Regions from separate parts of the Homo sapiens genome. Here region 2 is linked to region 1. Evidence: promoter capture Hi-C in human tissues and cell types (Jung and others, 2019). All regions are on one chromosome and are shown on one strand. Each heading gives the region's core, a stretch centred on a gene start or on the middle of the fragment in contact. The rest is flanking DNA. Distances are from core to core; before and after follow the strand shown.

What was found. The method cuts DNA at HindIII sites, captures the fragments that hold promoters and counts their contacts. A contact is called where the count stands out against the background at its distance.
Region 2: a contact is called between a fragment that was not itself captured here and the fragment with the promoter of GABPA in region 1, in 1 of the 25 tissues and cell types used here (stomach).

What each region holds. Positions count from the first base shown.
Region 1 is chr21:25,730,506-25,737,330 of GRCh38, forward strand. It overlaps GABPA (GA binding protein transcription factor subunit alpha), which reads left to right and starts at 4,467. Exons shown (of 10, transcript NM_002040.4): 1 at 4,467-5,073. It overlaps ATP5PF (ATP synthase peripheral stalk subunit F6), which reads right to left and starts at 4,399. Exons shown (of 4, transcript NM_001003703.2): 1 at 4,348-4,399. RefSeq lists enhancers at 1,691-2,528, 3,821-3,900, 4,219-4,874, 4,301-4,410, 4,431-4,550 and silencers at 4,011-4,110, 5,051-5,190, 5,251-5,460. The HindIII fragment of the contact is 8,192 bases long and covers 1-6,825 here.
Region 2 is chr21:26,818,685-26,825,775 of GRCh38, forward strand. No RefSeq gene overlaps it. Among named protein-coding and RNA genes, the nearest start is that of ADAMTS1, 23 kb to the right of the region's middle. RefSeq lists an enhancer at 82-703. The HindIII fragment of the contact is 6,528 bases long and covers 1-5,186 here.

The sequences.
Region 1 (6,825 bases), core at 3,217-5,716:
GGTGGATCACCTGAGGTTGGGAATTTGAGACCAGCCTGACCAACAAAAAGAAACCCTGTCTCTATTAAAAATACAAAAATTAGCTGGGCGTGGTGGCGCATGCCTGTAATCCCAGCTACTCAGGAGGCTGAGGCAGGAGAATTGCTTGAACCCAGGAGGCAGAGGATGCAGTGAGCCGAGATTGTGCCATTGCACTCCAGCCTGGGCAACAAGAGCAAGACTCCGTCTCACAAAAAAAAAAAAAAAAAAAAAAAAAAAAAAAAAAAAAAAGACTTAAAGACTTTCAAATCCCTAGACTTCCTTAAGCTAAAATATATTACTTTCTAACTAAAACATTTCAGTAGAGGACAATTCCTGTTGAGATTTACTTTAGTGATTTAAAGATCAAATGCAAAAAATAATCCAAATTACAACAAATAGGTACAAACAGGAATTCTAGAAGAAAAGGAATAAAGAGGGCCAGGCACGGTGGCTCATGTGTGTAATCCCAGCACTTCAGCCCGAGGCAGGTGGATCACTTGAGGTCAGAGGTTCGAGACCAGCCTGCCCAAAATGGTGAAACCCTGTCTCCACTAAACATACAAAAATAAGTCAGGCGTGCTAGCGCGTGCCTGTAATCCCAGTTATTTGGGAGGCTGAGGCAGGAGAATCACTTGAACTCAGGAGGCGGAGGCTGCAGTGAGCCCAGATCACACCACTGCACTCCAGCCTGGATGCAGGGCAAGACTCTGTCTCAAAAAGAAAAAAAAGGAAATGATTAAAAGAGACCATAAATAATTAGTAGAATACATTTTTCTCAGATTAAGGCCGAGTCTATAAACTGACAGGGCTTGCCAAACCCCATATTGGAACGGTGACAAAAGGCTCACAATGCACCACAGCCTGGTACAATTTCTCAATCTTTTTTTTTTTCAGACAGGGTCTCACTCTGTTGCCCAGAATGAACACGGCTCACTACAGCCTCAGCCTCCTGGACTCATGCAATCCTCCCACCTTAGCCTCCCAAGTAGATGGGAGCACAGTTGTGTGCCATCACACCAGGCTAATTTTTACTTTTTTTTTTTTTTTGTAGAGACGAGGTCTTGCCATATTGCCCTGGCTGGTAAAATTTCTGAATCTTCAAGTGAAAATCTGATATGCTAACATGTTTCCCATGCCCTCCCCAAATTTCCTAATAGCAATACTGTCATCATCACATTGACACCGGACTTCTACTAAGTTATAATAGGACTAGTGGAAGTATACAAACTATGTTATTGGTCTAAAGTAATATAGAAATTAGATATAAGTATTTAGAGGCCAGGCGAGGTGGCTCATGCCTGTAATCCCAGCACTTTGGGAGGCCGAGGAGGGAGGATTGTTTGAACTCAGGAGTTCAAGACCAGCCTGGGAAACATGGAGAGAACCTGTCTCTAAAAAATTAGAGCTTGTATTTTAAGTGACTTCATTGTTTTGTTTTTTAAATTTCATTTCTTTTGTAATTCATTTTCACTGTATTCAAAAGTGTCCACAGGAGTGGGTGTGAGAATGGCCCTTTACCACTCAGAGTTTGAGCAGCACTAGCTAGAAAACTGTAGAGTCGCACAATAGTTCTCAAAATAGGGTTGGGGGTGGGGGAAGAAGTGAGTTTTTTTCTCTCCAAGGAGACATCTGGCAATGTCTTTAGACATTTTTGGTTGTTCTCACCAAGCTGAGTGCTACTGGCTTATAATGAGTACAAAGCCAGGAATGCTGCCAAACACTATAACGACAATAACAGCCCTCCCACCCCTAAGAATTATCTGGTCAAAATGTCAATAATGCCAAGGTTGACAAACTCTGGAATGGCATGTAAAAATTATCAAAAGAAATCTACAATGAGCCAGGTGCAGCGGATCATGCCTGTAATCCCAGCACTTTGGAAGAACAAGGCAGGAGGATCACTTAAGCCCAGGAATTCAAGACCAGCCTGGGCAACACAGTATGACCCCATCTCTACAGAAAAAAAAAAAATAGCCAAGTGCGGTGGTGGGTGCCTGTAGTCCCAGGTACTTGGGAGGCTGAGGCTGGAGGATCACTTGAGCTTGGGAGGTAGAAGCTGCAGTGAGCTGTGATTGCACCACTGCATTCCAGCCTGTGTTACAGAGTGAAACCCTGTCTCAAAAAAAAAAAAAAAGAAAGAAAGAAATCCTACAATCAGGCCGGGCGTGATGGCTCACGCCTGTAATCCCAGCACTTTGTTGTAATCCCAGCACTTTGGGAGGCCAAGGTGGGTGGATCACCTGAGGTAGGGATTCAAGATCAGCCTGACCAACATGGAGAAACCCCGTCTCTACCAAAAATACAAAATTAGCCGGGAGTGGTGGCACATGCCTGTAATCCCAGCTACTCAGGAGGCTGAGGCAGGAGATTCCTTGAACCCAGGAGGCGGAGGTTGCGGTGAGCCGAGATCGCGCCACTGCACTCCTCCACCCTGGGCAACAAGAGTGAAACTCTGTCTCAAAAAAAAAAAAAAAAAAAAAAAAAAAGAAATCCTACTATCAATGCAATCAACAAAATATGCTTCACCTGACAGAATGAAAGCAAACTGTTTGAAGAAATTAAAGAATTCATAACATATCACTTTTATACCCCATCAGGGAAAAATACTTGAGAAAAGGCTACAAGCAAACAACAAATGACCTCACAAGGTCATGTGCCACTTATTATCATTCCTATGTTTAAACACACAGAAACTGAGGATTAGAAGTATCTGGTCAAAGTGGTCGGGCGCGGTGGCTCACGCTTGTAATCCCAGCACTTTGGGAGGCCGAGGCGGGCAGATCACGAGGTCAGGAGATCGAGACCATCCTGGCTAACACGGTGAAACCCGGTCTCTACTGAAAAATACAAAAAATTAGCCAGGCGTGGTGGCGGGCACCTGTAGTCCCAGCTACTCCGGAGGCTGAGGCAGAAGGGCGTAAACCTGGAAAGTGGAGCTTGGAGTGAGCAGAGATCGTGCCACTGCAATCCAGCCTGGGCGACAGAGCGAGACTCTGTCTCAAAAAAAAAGTATCTGGTCAAAGTTACACAGCAAAATCTAACTTAACACATATATGCAAAAAAAAAAATTGTGCAATTCAATGCCACTTTCCCTTCTGGCAAACTAAGGACATGCTTAACATTCAGCAATAGGTTCACCCGACATTTGCTTAGCCCTAGATACTGTGCAAAGTACTTCCATATATATCCTTTCCTTGTACCCTTACAGCAATACTCTCAAAGAGTTAAAGTGTTCTTATCCCTGCTTTACAGATGATAAAACTGTATCTAAGAAAGATTAAGCTGCACGTATTCTCACAGTTAATTTGCTCTAAGTCTGACTGCATAGATGTTACTCCTTCTGCAACACGGGTAAAATCCACTTTCATTGTTTCAATTATCCACCATGTAAGTGCCTATGATTCCCCAATCGCATTTCTAATTTTAGTATTCATCCTGAGCCCCAAATCTATCCACAGCATTCAACAGTTCTCATCTCCCTTATAAGTCCTACGAACTCATCCAAAAAACGAACACATAATCCCATATCAAAACTTGTTCCTTCTCCTTTAATCCCTTTCATTTTTTTTCACTGATTAGTGAATGCATATTGTCCACTAAAACGCAGAAGATAGTCATTACACAAATAGCTGTGAAATACCACCTGACATAAATTCTCTATTCCAGTACCATCGGGTGCCACGAGAGCATATGATAGCGTCTGACATGATCAGAAAGACTGGGGAAGGCAACAGTAAGAAAACACTAGTCTGAGCAGAGGCCTTGTTCTGGGTGGGAGCATGGTTCTATTTATAGTGATGACTGACCGGCCAAAGGTTAGTAGGTTCGCTGCCTCTTCAGTGCATATTCCTATGAACAATCCATAAAGTCGCCTAATGAAGTGTTAGCACCATCGTTTTTAGGTGGGATGCAAACTTTCAATATTATGACTAATTTTTTCCCTCTTAATGGTACACGTTCTGCCTAAGTAGCCTAGACGCTCCCGTGCGCCCGGGGCGGGTAGGCCTGGCCGAAAATCTCTCCCGCGCGCCTGACCTTGGGTTGCCCCAGCCAGGCTGCGGGCCCGAGACCCCCGGGCCTCCCTGCCCCCCGCGCCGCCCCGATTTGCCCTCAGAGAGGGTATCGATCTTATTTCTGGGTCTACGGCAAACTCCAAGGTCTACAAACGTAGAGGTCAGCTGTGACCCCGGGCCAGGCCGTGAAGGTCCCCAGGACACAGAGCTGCTCTCTCCTCCTAGTAAAGGTGAGAGGCAGCCCAGGCCTCGTGAAAAAACCCAGAACTGGAGTCCCAAAAGGCCACGCTGATCTAGCTACCCTCCCAGTCACCTTGCACTCAGTCCCGAGCTGCCAAAGCCTCCGCCGCCACCACCTCCGCTCTACTTCCGGCCCTGGCTCCGCCCCCACACGCCTACCCGCCATCGCAATGCATTATGGGCCGCCGTTTCAGTCGGTCGACGCTCACCGGACAGGAAGCGTCTCGGAGACAGTCTGCGACCGGACGGGTCTAGGTGAGACAGAAGCCAAACAGGAGGAGGAAGTGGAGGGTAAGTGCTTCCGGGTCCCCTGGCACAGCCTCCGCCATCTTTTCTTCGCCTAATTTGACCCGTTCTTTTTCCCCTCCTTGAAACCTTGCTCTGTACGCATGCGCTCTTTGAGTGGCCTTTCCCCTAGTTCAAGCTCCCCTCCGAGTCAGCGTCCTGTTCGTTAGGGTTATCGAAGTGTATAAAGGTGCAGGGAAAGTGAGACTGTGTAAAACAAAGCGGATTGGGGCGTTGTGCTTCCTTGTACCTCGTGAGCCTCCGTTGCCTTGGGCGGTCGTTTTGCGCACCCTGCCGGGAGTTGTAGTCCTGGACCCGAAGGTGCCTGGGAGGCGGGAGGGGGGTTGGGGCTTCTCAGCGCCGATTCCGCGGGAAGGGCCCTGGGACCTCACACTTCTAGTCGCGGGAGCTGCAGGTCTTACCCGGAGAGACGCTGCACGTGGAGCCCTCGCCGCTGCCGTTCTCAGCCGGCTCTGGAGTGCGGGCGGGGGCGACAGGGCCGATTCCGGAGTGGGTGAGTGCGGCCGCCGGGGAGGAGGGGAGCGCGGGCCCTCGCGGGCCGGCCTCGTTCCGGGGCCTTTTCCCCCACAAGGGCCCCCCCGCGGCCGCCTCTGTGTTTTGTTTCCGCTGGTCCCCGGCGCTGTGACTCCCATTTCCGTTCGTGGAGACTTGAGGGAGCCGGGTGGGGAGGGGCGGGAGAGCTGTGCGGGGAGCGAAGGGGAGGGGCGGGGGGCGAGCGGCCTGGAGCCCGGGGGGACCGGGCACCGCCGGGACCCGTGCCGGACGGGTCGCCTGTCGCCGCTCCCTCCTTTCCGCGTCCCCTCCTCGCCCGTCCGCACTCCTCAGCAGTCTCAGCCTGCTCAGCTGGGATGTGGTCCTGACGCCCCCGAGATTTTAAGAGCAAAATGCAGACCCTGTCTCATCGCGGGACTCAGCGATTCACTCATTTCAAATCCGCTCTCTTTATAGAACAACACACACCAGAATCATTTATCAGCGTATATGGTAGCCATCTGGGTTTGTTTTTTTGTTTTTAAGCAAGGAAGTAAACCAAGGAGATAACAATGGGTTGTCTACTTGGAAATTTTTTTGTGTACTAGAAGACACGCTGTATGTGCGTGTTTGGATTTAGGGACCCCAGTTTGATCAGGTTAGCGGACCGAGAGGACAATGCCTAATATTGCATTGCAAGATGATTAGAAATTTAGAAATAAAATTCATTTCATAAGTAGTTTCCACTAATAGCAGTAGGTCTGACTCGTGAGAAGAGCAAAGATTTAGCAGGATTCACTTGAGCGAATTGTAGAACGAGGCGGTGATAACATTCTTCGGTAGTGTTATCTTGAACTTCAGAAGAAACCGCTCAACTCTTTAGCAACTGCTTGAGGGACTAGCCTGTCTCTCAGGGTTCCATCCAGGCTTTCCAAGCTTCTTTATTTTTAGACATACAGTGACGCTGAGTGGACTTCAAGTCAATTTTACCTGAATTGTGTATACAAGAGCATCTGTCATGAGGCATGTATAGTAATGAAGTAATTAAATCATGAGCTAGATGTTAGGTTGAAGCAAATCATCAGACCGAGTACTAAATTAAAACTGTTGACTTTAGCCTTCCCTCAACTCTTTATATATAAAACTCCAAACCTACAGAAGAATTGGGGAAAAAATCATGCAGTGAACACGCAGATACCCTTCACCTGAGGGTCCCAACTGTTAATCTTTCACTGTATGTGCTTTCTCTTTTTATATTACATAGATATGTATGCTTTGCTTTTTCTTAACTGCTACCTTTATTTTTGAAAATAAAAATGTCTTTTAATTTCCTCAGACACAGAAAAGCATTTGATAACTTAGGAAAATGTGCAGTTAATCTCGCAGGTACCCCCACACTCCACTTATAATATATTGGGAACAAAATGTTCTAAGCTCTGTAATAATGCTCTCCAATGAAGGACAATTCTCAAATTTATCTGTAGTTTCAAAAGGGAATGTTACACCTATCTGTATTTTAAAAGACACTAGCCGTTCCCAGAATTTTTCGTTAAATTCAAGTTTAGTTTGTATCCCATCTTGTGAAACATTCCGAACCCCAGGTTGGATTTAATCCAGCAGAACCAGAGTGTCAAAGTATATGAAATTGTTCTGTGCAGTTCTGGCGGGGGCAGCCCTTAGACGGAGAAACTGCAAGTAATTTTCTCTCAGTTTTCCTAAGTATTGACATAGAAGCCTGAGGAATTGGTTTCAGAAAAAGAGATAAGACTCACTC
Region 2 (7,091 bases), core at 673-3,172, 1.1 Mb after region 1:
AAATTGAAAAAAAAATAATGTTTTAAAGGAAATTGCCTTGGCTATCACGGTGTGATATCTGCCTTCGTGCACATCTCTGTGACTTAAAGTCCAATACCAGGATATAATGAATTACACATGGCTTTTGGCTTTCCAAGGTATTATCCAGTGAGAAGAGATATGAGAAAAGGAAAAGGATCTTCGACCGTAAAATTAAAATAACTCAATTATCTTACCTTGTTGAAGAAATAACAGACCTAGAAATATTAAATGACTTGCTCAAGGTCATATACTTAGTTTATAAAAGATCCCGGACTTCAAACTTAAAAGACTGTAAGCAGAAAGGATTGAAGAAATGTTTGCCCATTCATTTTTAATGTGCTAAAGTGTAGCCATGAAAGCATAGCAAGGGCTTCATGCTGGGAAACTGAAATGGCAGACAAAGCAAACTAAACAAAGACCCATTGTCTCATTATGAACTAAGATTTTGAGGAGATTGTGGGTTTACTATGAAGAGCTTAAGGAGCACTAGTTGGGGAGGGGAGAAGTATGACTTTATGCATAGATTTAAGGGACTCTGGGCTCTTTGTGGTTTTAATCAGACATACGATAGTTATCATAAACTATAATTATTATAAGTTACACCCGTGTCCTCCTAGCACAGATATAGTGATATGCATGTATATTATGCATTTTCTCTGCACTCTCTCTGCCTGTATAGTTATATTCATTTGGTAGAACCAAAAATGCATCTTATGGCAAATTTTGATTTCAAGTTGAAATACACCAGTCCGTATGGAGAGTGTTGTCCAGAAATGCAGATGGTTCTTTGAAGAAAAGTACAATCAAACATGGCAGAGACAGTCTTACATAACAAATAACAGGGCTGATGTCAAAGTTATTTGCCAACAGAATACAGTATGTACACCATTAAGTACTTTGCTGTCTTCATATGAATTTGTCCTTAGAAAAACTGCCCCAATCTAAACTGTTACATTAATATCTACTACCATATTAGGATTAGGAGTGCTTACTATGTGTCAGGTACTAGTTTAAACACTTTGCAGGTATTATGAGTGGGATAATTATACCAACTGAATGAAGTACATTACTATTTTCATCATTCCCATTTTATAGATGGAAAATCAAGGTAAGGCAAATTAAGAGTAAGGCAAGTAAATGGAGGAGCTAGGATTCGAATCCAAGCAGCCTGATTCAAATTTTGCATGTTCAGTTGCTATGTCAACAACATCTCAATATGACTGAATCTTTTTCAAGAGAGAAACCAAAACCCAAATGCAAAAGCACTCTGTCCCTTTTAAGGTTGTCATTTGGGAAGTACATACAACTTTCCTAAGAATGCTGTCATACCTTAAATATTTCTGAAATGGATACCTTGGAATTAACGTCAGAGCCTGCAGCTCATTCTTTGACTATCTCCTGTGGTGGCAAATCTCTTTTTGAAGGAGGATTTTGTTTTGGATGCAACCAAAGTCCCTTGCAGCCAAATACCATGACTAAGGTGGGTCTCTAATCTGGGTGATGCCATTTTTGGTCAAAAAAGTGAAACATGCCTGGGCGGCAATGGGGCAGATTGTTTCTCTAAATTGGCTCTGAGGACAGTTCCAAGGAGGAGCTTCAGAGCCTCTGGAGCAATTGCCTGCTCTGGGTTCATGACTTGTAGTCCAAAGTGATTTGACTTGGGGTGAGGGTGTGGTCAATTTAGATATTCAAATCTGGACAAGTTTATCATCACTTGCCTCTGTAACTTGGATTTAATTTTTAAAAATTCATAAATCCAAATAGTCAATAATTTCTGTAGACAATCTTTTGGAAAATTAAGTTGACCTATCTCATTGAGTGAACAGGGATGAAGCTAGCAAAACAGAAGGCATCCATCTGTGTCTTTATTTTTTGCTCCATGCCGGAAGGGTTTCCTGTCCACCCAGCATACCTGGTGGTATTACCTACACACGCCACTCATCTGTATGAGTGGCTGAGCAAGAACGGATCACATGGATCAGACATTTTTGTCTCTGTTATTTCTTCTCCAATATCTGGAACACATCTCCCGCCTGTTTTCATTCCTTTCAACTCAAAGTATCATGTTATGTCTCTACTCCTTCCTTGACCCCTTGACCTGAAGTGATCCCTTGCTTCTGTATTCCTGAGCTCATGTTATTGATGCAATTCACTGGACTCACTTTCTTGTATTGTTATTTTTTCTTTTGTATACATTTTATTTCTCCAGCTATACTATAAGACTAAAGGCAAGAATGATTTTTTTTTCTACCCATTTTATCTTCCTTTCTTTCCATCCTCTTTCCTTTCTCTCTTCCTTCCTTTCTGCATCCTTCCTTTCTCTCCTTTATTTTCTCTCCTTTTTTTTTCTTGTGGGCTCTTATTCAGGCCCTAGGACAGTTCCCTATACAAACTAGTAGCCCAGCGATATTTACTGATTCTTACTCATTCTTGTTATATCAATGGAATGAATAATCTAATTGCCCACTCTGCATATTTATCTTTCTTATTATAATTTTCTTGAGAAAATGTTAAGTTGTTTTCCTTCCTTTGTTTCTTCCTTTCTTTTTTTCTTGACATATACTACTTGAAGGGTTATATTTCAAAAAAAGGCAGCCTTAGTTAAACATCTTTTTTTATTTGTTCAAAGTGATAAAGGGCAAGTATACTACTAAAACTGATTCTATCTTCTTTGCAAGGGATGTTTTTCTTAAAGATATGCTATTAAAGTATAATTGACTCCTCTTGCTACATAAAACCTTTGGGGTCTACAATTTGATTCTTCAGAAGTCTTTGTCAAAATATTGCTTAAAAGTAAGCATTTGTTTTACCAGTATTCATTCTTATATTTTGGGGGTTCAAAATATAAATAAGTATAATATCCAGCAATCTAAAGCAACTTTACTTTTATTGATGCTCTATAATCAACAAACATTCACATTTATTCACATTTTAAATTGTACCTTTTTGTGTGTGGCTATTGATAAAGTCAAGTCTGATAAAATAACTAATTATATGGTCCCACAGTTTGTGGATAGGAAAATTGCTCAGAAAAGTGTTCAGTTCTCTAATTTTGGACTGTTAATAATGCCTTCTTTTTCACTTGTAAAATGATGCTCTTTCCTTTCTCCCAGTCATGCTAAGAACTGAATTTTACTGCTTCAACCATGCCTGCAATATCTAGGAGAGTCCCAAGTGAGGTTTCTTAGAAATGTTTACAAATGCAGAGGATCAAAAGCTTTTCTAAGTATTTAGTTTTGTTTACATTTTAATCTTTTAAATGGCTCACATGCATATGGATGTTAAAGAAAAAAAAATACAGTGCTATGATGACCTTAGGTAGATAACCCAAGTCCTTTGTTTTAAGAAAAGAAAAAGGAGACTAGAGAGCAAAGATAAACAGGATATTCTGCATTTTTTTTAGCAATCTTGTACTGTTGTATATTACATTTGAAGGCCAAATTTAAAAGTTATGCTGAAGGTCTATATGAGAATATTCTGTTATCACTACTGTCAAAGGAAGTCATCAGGACATTTTAATTAGAAAACCACAAGGTTTAACTAATATCTAACTTCTAAAAGAAATTGACCTTGTATTATAGAGCATATTCCAGAGTATGCTGCAGTTTGATAACTAGATATCATCATCTCTGTGGGTCTTTAATAGCAAAGGATCCTGTCCATAGGCTTGGGCTAGCCTTTGAGAATATGTATCCTTATTGTTTCAAATGAAGGTCTCCAGCCAACTTCCATTTATTTGGAATTAGTTTATCAAACCAAAAGATGATGTACACCCCTGCTTTTCTTTTCTTTCCCCTGAAGTATCCTTTGAAATGAAGTTAGTTTTTATTATTACCTCTGGCATACTCTGGGAAGAGAAGAGATATAGCCAAACCTGTTGATTCTACTCCTGTTAATAAGTTTGGTGAAAACACTGAAGGTGAAAGGCTCTGGAACATGCAGAACTGAATAAACCAACTTGAAATTAATGAAAAGCCAGAGCAATATTGTAATGCCAGCACCGCCAGAAGTCGGTCAGTATTTGTGTTCTTTATTTGGTGCATTTCTCTGCTTTTATGAAAGATACAGCAGGGGTCTGATAAATTCTTAGCCCACTTTAAAGAAAAAAATGAAACTGTGCACATAACTGATCTGATACATATGGTGAAGAGCTTCAGATGGAAACCAAATATCTTGGAGATTTAACTATTTACTTAATCTTTCAGCTGAGCTCCCTCATCTACAAATTCAAGGTTGCCAAATGATATGGTCTGCCTGTGTCCCCACCCAAATCTCATCTTGAATTACTACAATTCAAGATAATCGCCATGTGTTGTGGGAGGGCCCTAGTGGGAAGTGATTGGATCATAGAGGAGGTTTCCTCCATGCTGTTCTCATGATAGTGAGTGAGTTCTCATGAGATCTGATGGTTTTATAAGTGTCTGGCATTTCCCTGCTGGCACTCATTCTTTCTCCTGCCGCTCTGTGAAGAGGTGCCTTCCACCATGATTATAAGTTTCTTGAGGCCTCCCCAGCCATGCAGAACTGTGAGTCAATTAAACCTCTCTTCTTTATAAATTACCCAGTCTTGGGTATTTTTTTCATAGCAGCATGAGAATGAACTAATATACCAAATATGACCTCTTCCTGCTTTATCAATGGACTCTACTTCCTTCAAGTTTGAGAGCCAAGAATCTCTCTGATGGTCTTCATATTAATTCCCTTCTCTTCACTCAGCATTTCTTTCCTCAAAAAAAATTCCCTTGATATGTGCTTCAGGTAGTCATAATACATTTATCTTTTGTCCTTAAGATTAAATCCTGAGTACCTGCAAGCAAAAAGTGGTTTTTCGTTTTCATTCTCTACGTAATTTTCTTCCTGTTGGTAGAAAATTGGAGTTCTAGGAGACTTTAATATAAAATATTGAATTTTTTTGTATCCTATGATAATGTTTAAATCTTGCCTCTGTAGGAAAAGTGATAAATTCACAACCTATTACAATAGAGAATCCACTTAATTGCCCTATATTTTACATTGCTGCGGAGCATAAATATTTCTTCCTTCCTTCCTTCTTTCCTTCCTGATTCTTACTTTAATTACCACATAATGATTTCCTCCTGCACTCTGTACTGAACCCTGTTTAGAGAGTGTTTCTGTATTTTTAAGTGTGAGTACTTTAAATACATTTATACTCCTCAAAAAAGCAAGAGTAGAAAAGAACACTAATATATGTCATATTTTAAATTGCTTCAAATACCGATATTGATTTGTAAATTAGACAAAAGAAACATAACTTCTCAGTTTATTTTTAACCTTTTATTGTAGAAAAAAGTCTAATTATACAAAAGTAGAGAACGAAGTATGCATCTCTATCACTCAGCTTTAACAATTATTATCATTTTGTTCATCTAGTTTCATCTATCTTCACATTTTCTATTTTTGCTTGAAATTTTTAAAGAAAATTCTAGACTTTGTATTATGTTACTTCAGTATCTAGCTTTAGTTTTTGAAACAAGATACAATTTAGAAATATCTACCCTAGTTATGAGAGGATAGGATCTTTCCATGGATGTGTTTTTGTTCAAGGTAATAAACACCACTGCATCAATAGGCCAGTGTACCATTTTAATATGTTATATGATGTCAGTACTTATTGGATATTCTTTTCTTCTACTGCTAAGGGAAAAACTTTCTCTGCCCCACTGACAGTTTCTGTATTAGTCCATCTTCACATTGCTATCAAGAACTACCTGAGACTGGGTAATTTATGAAGAAAAGCGGTTTAATCGACTCACAATTCCACAGGCTGTATAGGAAGCACCGTTAGGGAAGTCTCAAGAATCCTGGTGGAACGTGGAGGGAAAGTTGGCCTGTCCTATATGGCTGGAGCAGGCGGAAGAGAGAGCGAAAGGAGAGGTGCTACACACTTTTAAACAACCTGATATCGCAGAACTCTTATCATGAGACAGCACTAGAGCAGTGGTGTTAAACCATTAGAAACCACCCCCATCGGCCGGGCGTGGTGGCTCACGCCTGTAATCCCAGCACTTTGGGAGGCCGAGGCGGGCGGATCACGAGGTCAGGAGACCAAGACCATCCTGGCTAACACAGTGAAACCCCGTCTCTACTAAGAATACAAAAAAATTAGCCCGATATGGTGACGAGCACCTATAGTCCCAGCTACCCAGCTACTCGGGAGGCTGAGGCAGGAGAATGGCGTGAACCCGGGAGGCGGAGCTTGCAGTGAGCTGAGATCGCGCCACTGCACTCCAGCCTGGGAGACAGAGTGAGACTCCGTCTGAAAAAAAAAAAAAAAAAAAAAGAAAAGAAAAAGAAACGACCCCCATTATCCAATCACCTCCCACCAGGCCCCACCTCCAACACTGGAGGATTACAATTCAACAAGATAGTTGGGTGGGAACACAGAGCCAAACCATACCAGTTTCCATAAGAAAAATGAAGAGAGTTGAAAAGGATAATTGAAGAGATTTTGAAAGTTATTTCTACAGAACTTCTGTCATAAAGAGGACTATCATCATCTCATCTTGGCTCTACTCTTTATATGTATGCCTACAATTAAAATCGTAGTTTATTCTTTCACCCTTAGCTTTTGGTGGATTCTTTTGTTCCACAGATAATCTTGAATACATAGGACTATTGTTGTGGGGCTTGAGCCCAGCCTTTTCCTCAATTCTCACGTTTGGCTACTGTTGCACCCTACATTGCTTCAGAACGAAAGGAGTTAATGTGAAAGGACTTAATATCATAATGTGACACACAAAGGGATACTCAGTTTATGTGGATTTGATGCCTACTAGGGATCTATGAGTTTGATTCTCCCAGATCTCCCCTAGTTGTAGGGTATACTTTAAAAAAAATTAAACTGTTACTAACACTAAATTCTTAGAGTTTTCCCATTCATTCATCTTCTTCACTAGTGAACAGGGGCAGAGAGATGGAAAAATGTAAAATTGTGGGAAACCCAAACAGGTTTGAATTTGAAATTAAATTTTTGTACTTTTAGTTATATATAGTATGCATCTCTTTGTAAAATAATTTATATACTGAAGTCAAGATATGAAATCTCTTAG